Regions from separate parts of the Homo sapiens genome. Here region 1 is linked to region 2. Evidence: promoter capture Hi-C in 16 types of primary human blood cells and fetal thymus (Javierre and others, 2016). All regions are on one chromosome and are shown on one strand. The core of a region is centred on a gene start or on the middle of the fragment in contact, and the rest is flanking DNA. Distances in the headings are between cores, read along the strand shown.

The links. Contacts are between HindIII fragments. The CHiCAGO score rates a contact against its expected background, and 5 or more counts as called.
Region 1: a fragment that was not itself captured here is called in contact with the fragment with the promoter of ASCC3 in region 2 in 1 of 17 cell types (activated CD4 T cells); the score reaches 10.2 in activated CD4 T cells.

What each region holds. Positions count from the first base shown.
Region 1 is chr6:79,072,065-79,075,754 of GRCh38, forward strand. The region is part of intron 4 of PHIP (PHIP subunit of CUL4-Ring ligase complex); the gene reads right to left. It overlaps LOC124901346 (a long non-coding RNA gene), which reads left to right. Exons shown (of 2, transcript XR_007059652.1): 2 at 1-3,690. Among named protein-coding and RNA genes, the nearest start is that of PHIP, 4.3 kb to the right of the region's middle. The HindIII fragment of the contact is 522 bases long and covers 1,859-2,380 here.
Region 2 is chr6:100,879,127-100,882,850 of GRCh38, forward strand. ASCC3 (activating signal cointegrator 1 complex subunit 3) reads right to left here and starts at 2,203. Exons shown (of 42, transcript NM_006828.4): 1 at 1,935-2,203. It overlaps LOC107984041 (a long non-coding RNA gene), which reads left to right and starts at 2,331. Exons shown (of 8, transcript XR_007059692.1): 1 at 2,331-2,528. RefSeq lists an enhancer at 2,047-2,166. The HindIII fragment of the contact is 1,558 bases long and covers 1,126-2,683 here.

The sequences.
Region 1 (3,690 bases), core at 870-3,369, about 22 Mb before region 2:
AATATATATAAACAGATTGACAAAACAGAAGTCAAGACATCTCTTCTCTGACAGTTTCCAAAAAGAATACAAACTATTGTGATGGTTGTAAATCTCACAAATAACTGTATAGAAGGAGGCAGACGCCATAGCCAAATTCTCTTCATATATTCCTAAATGTCATTTGATGATTACCCAAAGAAAAAAAGCTTTGCATATTCTCTAATCCATTCAGGATATGTCAACCACCCAAATTATTTCTTAATGTTCAGTGTTCCATAAAAACAAGTCACAGTAGAAATCAGTAGCACAATTTTTCCAGAGGTCTATCCACAATGCCTTAACCATGATTTATTTTTGGTATTAAACATTTTTCCTTTATTTTTTAGACCTGTTTCATCCTTGAGTCTATAAAGTAATTATAGTATCTTCCGAAGATTTTTTTTTTCTTTTCTTGAGACAGGGTATCACTGTGTCACCCACGCTGGAGGGCAGTGGCATGGGGCACAGCTTATTGCAGCTTCAACCTCCCTGGGCTCAGGCGATCCTCTCACCTCAGCCTTCGGGGTAATTGGGACTACAGGCATGCGCCACTACACCTGGCTAATTTTTTTTTTTAGTTTTTGTAGAGATGGGGTTTTCCATTTTGTCCAGGCTGGTCTCCAACTCATGGCCTCCCAAAGTACTGGGATTACAGGCATGAGCCACCACACCTGGACTCTTCTGAAGTTTTAATGTGGCCTTTTTATACTGCAGATTCTATGTTCAGAAAGTATATACATACTTGTGCCTGGAATAAAAATGTAAATGCTTTTCTTAAAGAAAACTTTATTATAAAGCTCTAAGCAGAACAACCTTTACTACCACTACTAAAGTTCTGATAATAGCAAACCAAAACCCTTACATAGTACTTGATTCATGCCAGTTATTACTCACAGACCACACAAAGTAGAAGCTATTATTAGCCCATTTTACAGAATGGAAAACAGACTCCCTCAATACGATTCTGCCTCACAACAATCAAATAAAAACCATTATGGTTTGGGAAAGGGACATTCCAGCTCCCGCTTTATGCTCATGCCGCTTTACAACTATTTAAGAATATTAACAATATAGTAAGTATTGCATTTAAAAAGTTTGTAAATGCCTCAAATTTTAAAAAATGGTATAAGCATCAATAGAATAATTCTATATGTAAGAAAGAATGAAGAATGCTCCTTCAGCCTCTCAGCAACATATTCACACCTAACATTTTATTCATCATATAACCCTTCACGCCTAACATATTTTATTCATCATTATAACGACCATATGAGATTAAAGCTGTTTTAGAGACTACCACGCAAAGCTTCTATTTCATTGATACTCTACTAAAAAAGGAAATAGTAACTCTACTACAACTACACACATTTACTTTATTACATGTTCACCCAACCCCAAAAAATTATAATAATCAAGTGTTGAAACTATGTTATCTTCAATATAGAATGGGAATCCCTACTTCTAAAACATTTAATATGATATCTTTTTTTTTTCCCTGAAAGTTGTCTCTAGGTTTTATACCTTAACTTTCACATTAATCAGCACACACTAAATAAATGTATACCTAAGATATATACTTAAATAAATCCTATCCATCATTCCTATTCATCTCTGAATTTGAGACCAACAATAATGAAAACTAGTACTTAAACTATGATGGAAATCATGGTAATTTTGGGGCATTTTACAACGTAGTTAGTGTCTCAAATCATCTTTGCAACAAGAAATGATATTACCACCAAAGAATGGCACTATGAAAAGCATTTATATAATTTTGTAACCTATGTGATTTCTACTTTTCTGTGTTTTGGAAAACTAAGCTCTAAGAATGAAATAAAGCTTAGTTCTTAAATACAATGTACTGCTATTTCTAGTTCAAAATCACAGATTTTCAGATTGAAAAAATTTCAATCCACTTATTTTTCAAATGAGATAACTGGGACAAAGAGAAATTCCATGACTTGCCCAAGATTACCTACAGTTTAACTGTCAGCGGGGCTTAAAACCACAATCCACATCTCCTGACTCCCAATCCTTTCACTTAAAACAAACAAGCAAACAAACAAAAAAGATTTCTAATAAAGTGGAATAATTTTAAGAAAGGCAAGTATCACTATTTTACAAGGAAAAAATTAAATCATTTTAACAGATTGGCAAAACATGAACTAGTTCTTGGGGGGAAAAAAGAGAAGTCTTACAAGAAAAAATGTAATCAAGAGAGTGCCAAATTCGGTAAAATGCTTGAAAATTCTGCCTCTAGATCTCGTAAATATGCAATCATCATTAAGTGACAACTAGAAAGCAGACTTAATAAACTAACTAGATTCACTATTCAAACTAAGAAATAAACAAATGACAAAGCTTTCCTTTCGTCCAAAAAAAGTTTTTTATTCTACAGTTTAAGAATTCTGATACTTGGAAAAAGTGCCCCTTTTCTTTAAAATAAATCTCATATTTTAAAAAATGTAAAATCTAATTAAACGTATACCATAGTACCAAAAACAACTTTTAGCTTCCTATCCAATTCCATTTACTTTGTTAAAAATGTTTTAAATCTTAAGGTAGATGGTGATAATCAGTCATGTTTTATACCAGAGACAGAAACAACCATAAGATACGACCATTTCCTTTCTCAATCACACTTGAAATGAACGCATCAATTTTAACCTGCAAACTTTTAAAACTGCTCTTAAAATTCTACTTTCCTCTTGATTAAAATTCAACCATTGCGATTGTAACTAGACTAACTACAGATGATCAGTGACTATTTTTAAATTCACATCTACAAATATTACACCCCATTTTAAGCAGCAATAATTTGAGGTTTCCTAGAAATTTCAATGCGATGTGATATATGAGTTCTCCCATTTAAAATATTGCTCAGTTTATTAGTTAATACAACAAATCATTTCCAGGTAGAGTAGAAACTAATGACTCAACAAGTAATTTTCAAATCAATGTTAAATAAATTCAACTCGATATACAACAACGTAAAACTTTTTAAGTCAGAATAATTAAAATAGAAAATACTGTACAAGAGACTTTGCATGTGCTGACTTAGATATTAAACAGCGAGATCAACTATTGAACAAAAAAATCCAGTGTTCCAAATGTTTTTAGACCTAACTAAATCTCAACTAAAAAGGTAAAATAAAGTTAACTCACACACCTAGATATACAGTTTGATGGATGAGAAAGCACCTCAAATGGTACCTTGCATCCAGTAGATATAGAGTAAGCAATATGCTGAATGAATGAAAAGAGAAAACGAGTCAAAGAACTCCAAGTTCTAATAAGATTTCTAAACTGTCTGATGAGTATGCCAACGTTCCTGTTCTAGTAAGGAGAAAACTCCAAGCAAGAAAAACCACTTCCATTCAAAATAGGTGAATTTTGAGCATAATACATAGATAGAAAGAATGCTTACTGTATCTTAAATCTGCGATGCAGACTAGGGATAGAAATTCACTTTACTAATAATTCCTCCCCCCACCCTCCCCCCAAAAATTAAATTAACTCAAAATCAAAATTGATAGCTCATTTTTACTGAAAAAAAAAACAAAAAAACAAAATGATATTCCTACGAGGATTAGCCATTACCATAATTTAGCCAGATAACATTAAGCTGCTTCATTTAAAAAATGTAACATTACCAAAAGATTAAGAAAA
Region 2 (3,724 bases), core at 953-3,452:
CAAAGGATACAGATGAACAGATACATAGGATAGGGTAATTTATAAGGGAAGGGAATTTCCATGCAGAACTTCCAAGTACTTCCTGGGCACACCACCTCAAGGAATCTCCACATGTTCAGCTTTCAGAAGCTTTATGAACCCTGTCATTTTGAGTTTTTATGGAGGCTTCACTACATAGGCATAATTGATTAAACCCTTTGGCCACTGGTGATCAACTTAATCTTCAGCCCCTCTCTCACCTCCCTAAGCAGTTAGGGGGTGGGGATGAAAGTCCCAACCTTCTAATAATTCCTTGACCTTTCTGGTAACCAGCCCCCATCCTGAAGCTACTAGGAGCAGCCAGCTAGCTAAGACAAAATTCTTAGTCAATTCATTAGCATACAAAAAGGCAAAATGGGGCCCGTAATCCCAGCACTTTGGGAGGCCGATGCAGGAGGACTGCTTGAGCCTAGGGGTTCCAGAGATACACAGGAGATCAATCAGACCAAAGTGAAGACTGGAAAGAAACTGATTTCTACCTCAAAAGAAAAAGCTTTTTATTTATTTATTTTTTTTGAGGTAGAAACTGAGGTAGAACTGTGAACTTTATATTTAAACAAGCTTTGAAAAAGAAAAACTTACTCTTCTGAAATGGCAAACCACTGGTACATATACTACTTTTTGATCAAAGGCAATATCAAATCATGCTGTTAAAGCAAGATCATCTGTTCCCCTTTCAATGCCAATTACATATATACATTGACAATAACTTTTTCTTTTAAAAGCTTTGTTTTGGTTAACTACAGATCCATGGCATGAGAAAGAACCCTAGTCAAGATTCTGTCTTAAAAGGAGGCTGCTGGATTATAGAAAGTTCATGAGCACAGAGACTGTCTCTCTCTTGCTCTCCTAGGCCTAGCCCAGCGTTTGACACATAGGAAGACTTGAATGAATGAATGACAAAAAACTGTTAAGCAGGGATCAAGAAAGCTGAACCATGAAAAATTAATTTCTCATATAAATAGGATTATTTAGCCTAAGCTTAAGAGCATCTTTAAGGATCATTTTTCTCATGCAAGACTATTATAACCATCATTAAAAAAAAGAGACAACATAAACTGGAGCACAATCCATAGTAAAACCAAAAGCTTAATTCTCAACATTTGAGAACTTTGAGAATCAGAAAAAGGATTTCAATCTATGAAACATAAAATCTGGTGATGGAGAAAATGGCTGTCAATCTCACCTAACCTAGGGAAAGAAAGAAAATGTAACCATGAGTTTGAATGCACAAGTGACAACACATCAAACTTTTACCAGCCCCTAGAATTATGCTTCTTTTAAACCAAAGAATAGCAAATACCATTAGCACACTGCATTCCATGAGTAAGTTAATTTATAAGAAACCTATTTGAAATGACTGCCCAGTACTCACAAAACCTCCCTAGCACCCACATACACATTTATTTATTTCAAAATGACATTATAGGCTCCTTGATTGCGAAATTCACCCACAATCCATCACGGTCAGCTACCTATTTACTTTCCAGTGTGTTGGGGGAAAAATATGAGGAAGATTTCTTTCCCCAAATCTACGTGAAGAAAACGAAGTTATCAAGGCTTTGTAACAGAAAAAAAGAAAACAAATTACCCATGCATGGGACAGAAAAACCTCATCTGGTCACGTTGTGGCTTAACACTTGGACAATATGTAGCTTAGGTTAAGTTTTCTATCCCCAACCCCACCTACAAACTCTAGGAATGGGCGGTATTGTTGCGAGACCCCGGACTCGACCTCATGCCACTGAAAAGGATGACAGGTCGGGACTTGCCCCGGAGGCAGGAAGAGAATCTCTGGCGGGTCGCGTAGCCCGCCTCGCCGTCCCCGCCTCCAGCCAGCTCCCCTGGCCGCGGCGACCCTTCTCGTCCTCCCACCTCCACCTCCACCTCCTCACCTCTCGGCCTGGCTCACGCGTTTCCCATCACTCTGTCAGCTCCTGCCACCGCGCCTTCTTCCCTTTCGGTTTTACTTTAACTTCCCACGCCGGGTGAGGAGCTGAGCGCAGGGCCAAAGATGCGAGCGGGCAGCTGTATCGCCGCGCCCCGTCCGCCCTCCAAGCCGCGCTTGCCGGGGTCGCGCCCAGTCACAGGGAACCGCGTGTGAGGACCATCAGTCAGACAGACAGACGCAAAGACGCACAGACCCGGCGAGGAGGGACAGAGTGGAGCTGGCGCCGGCCTACACGTCACCGCCCCGCTGCAGCGCCAACGTCGGCACGTCGACTCGTCGACTCCGGGCCCTCTGCCCCGCCCGCGTGCGCGCGCCGCTCCGCCTCCCGCCTCCAGCCTCTAGTCCGCTGGGTTCGGAGGAGCAGAGGCGGAAGGTCCCGGCGGCGGCGAGGATGCGCCCCAGGGCGGGAGCGGGACGCTCCACTTTACCCTGGCTGCCCGCAACGGGCCAGGCCTGCCGTCTCTACCTCTCTACCTGTGAGTTTTTTCCCTGCATTTACTTCAGTCTGCCGCGTCTTCTCCCCGCCCTTCTCTGTAAGGTAAATATGTGGAGGAAATAATTCCTATTAAAGGTAAAGGAAAGGAGAGCAATTTGAATGAAGAAACAGGTAGTTGCTATCGTCGTTTTCAGCCAAAGCCCTCTGGCTGCTAGAGAGTATACATGGTTCTCTGGTGTCAAGGCCTGTTTTCCATAAGCTTTCTGGATTCTCAGCTTAGTTCCCTCAAAGTGATCTCTGCAAGTCGGCTCTTCGGTCAGAAGACCTCCTCCAAAAACAGAAAGCCCAAAGATTCCCTAACTCGATTGAAAAGATAGGAAGATACGAAGAAAAACTAACCTAAAGAATTGTGTGGTTTATCTGCAAAGAGTTCTAGACTAAAAGCCAACAATGCAAAGATAGTATGAGTTAATATGTTTGTTGTGGCTCTCTTCTGCCATTCCCGCTTCCTCAAGGTAATGTGCCCCGATGCCTGGTAGAACTGTTTTGTAGAGGCAGCCAATAGTGATCCAGTTATTGTCTTTACTGGTCAGACCACCTCTGAAGTGCTGTGTTCAGCATTTGAAGACTTTAATCAAGCTGGCATTATATCAGGGAAGAGCAAAATGATGACGAGAACTCAAAAACAGGGCAAGTGAAGAAGGATTGATTAAACCTTCCAGGACTCACCTAGAAGAGAGAAAACTACTGGACTCTCTCCAAATATGAAATGACCTATCATGTGAAGTTGATTTGTTTCATGTGATGCAAACTTCAGGGAACAGATTTAAGATCCTGAAAAGAAGATGCCCTTGTAGCACGACCCAAAGAATTGCCTACCTTAGCATGTGTGAATACCTCAACCACAGAATTTTGCTTCAAGGAGATTCTGAAGCTCACTTAATAGGGACTTGGTACAGGGGAGCCACACATCAACAGAATAATTAGTTGATGGTTTTGTTAAAGATATTTCCAGTCTTGAGATTACATGTGTCTTTGGTCCTGGACTTCATAGAGTTTACAAGTTAGTTCATGAGACAAGACAAATGCATCACAAAAATAAATAATGCAAGGAGGCCAAGTGATAATGAGAGGTGCTGATAAGTGCTAGGAATTCACATGACAGATTATTCCCATCACAGTTCCAGAGGCTTAAGGGAGAAGAGAGGAACTGAAAATAGACTACCTAGAACTGCCCTATCCATTGGGGTAGCCACCAGTTAAATACGTCTCTTGACATTTGAAATGTGGCTTGTCCA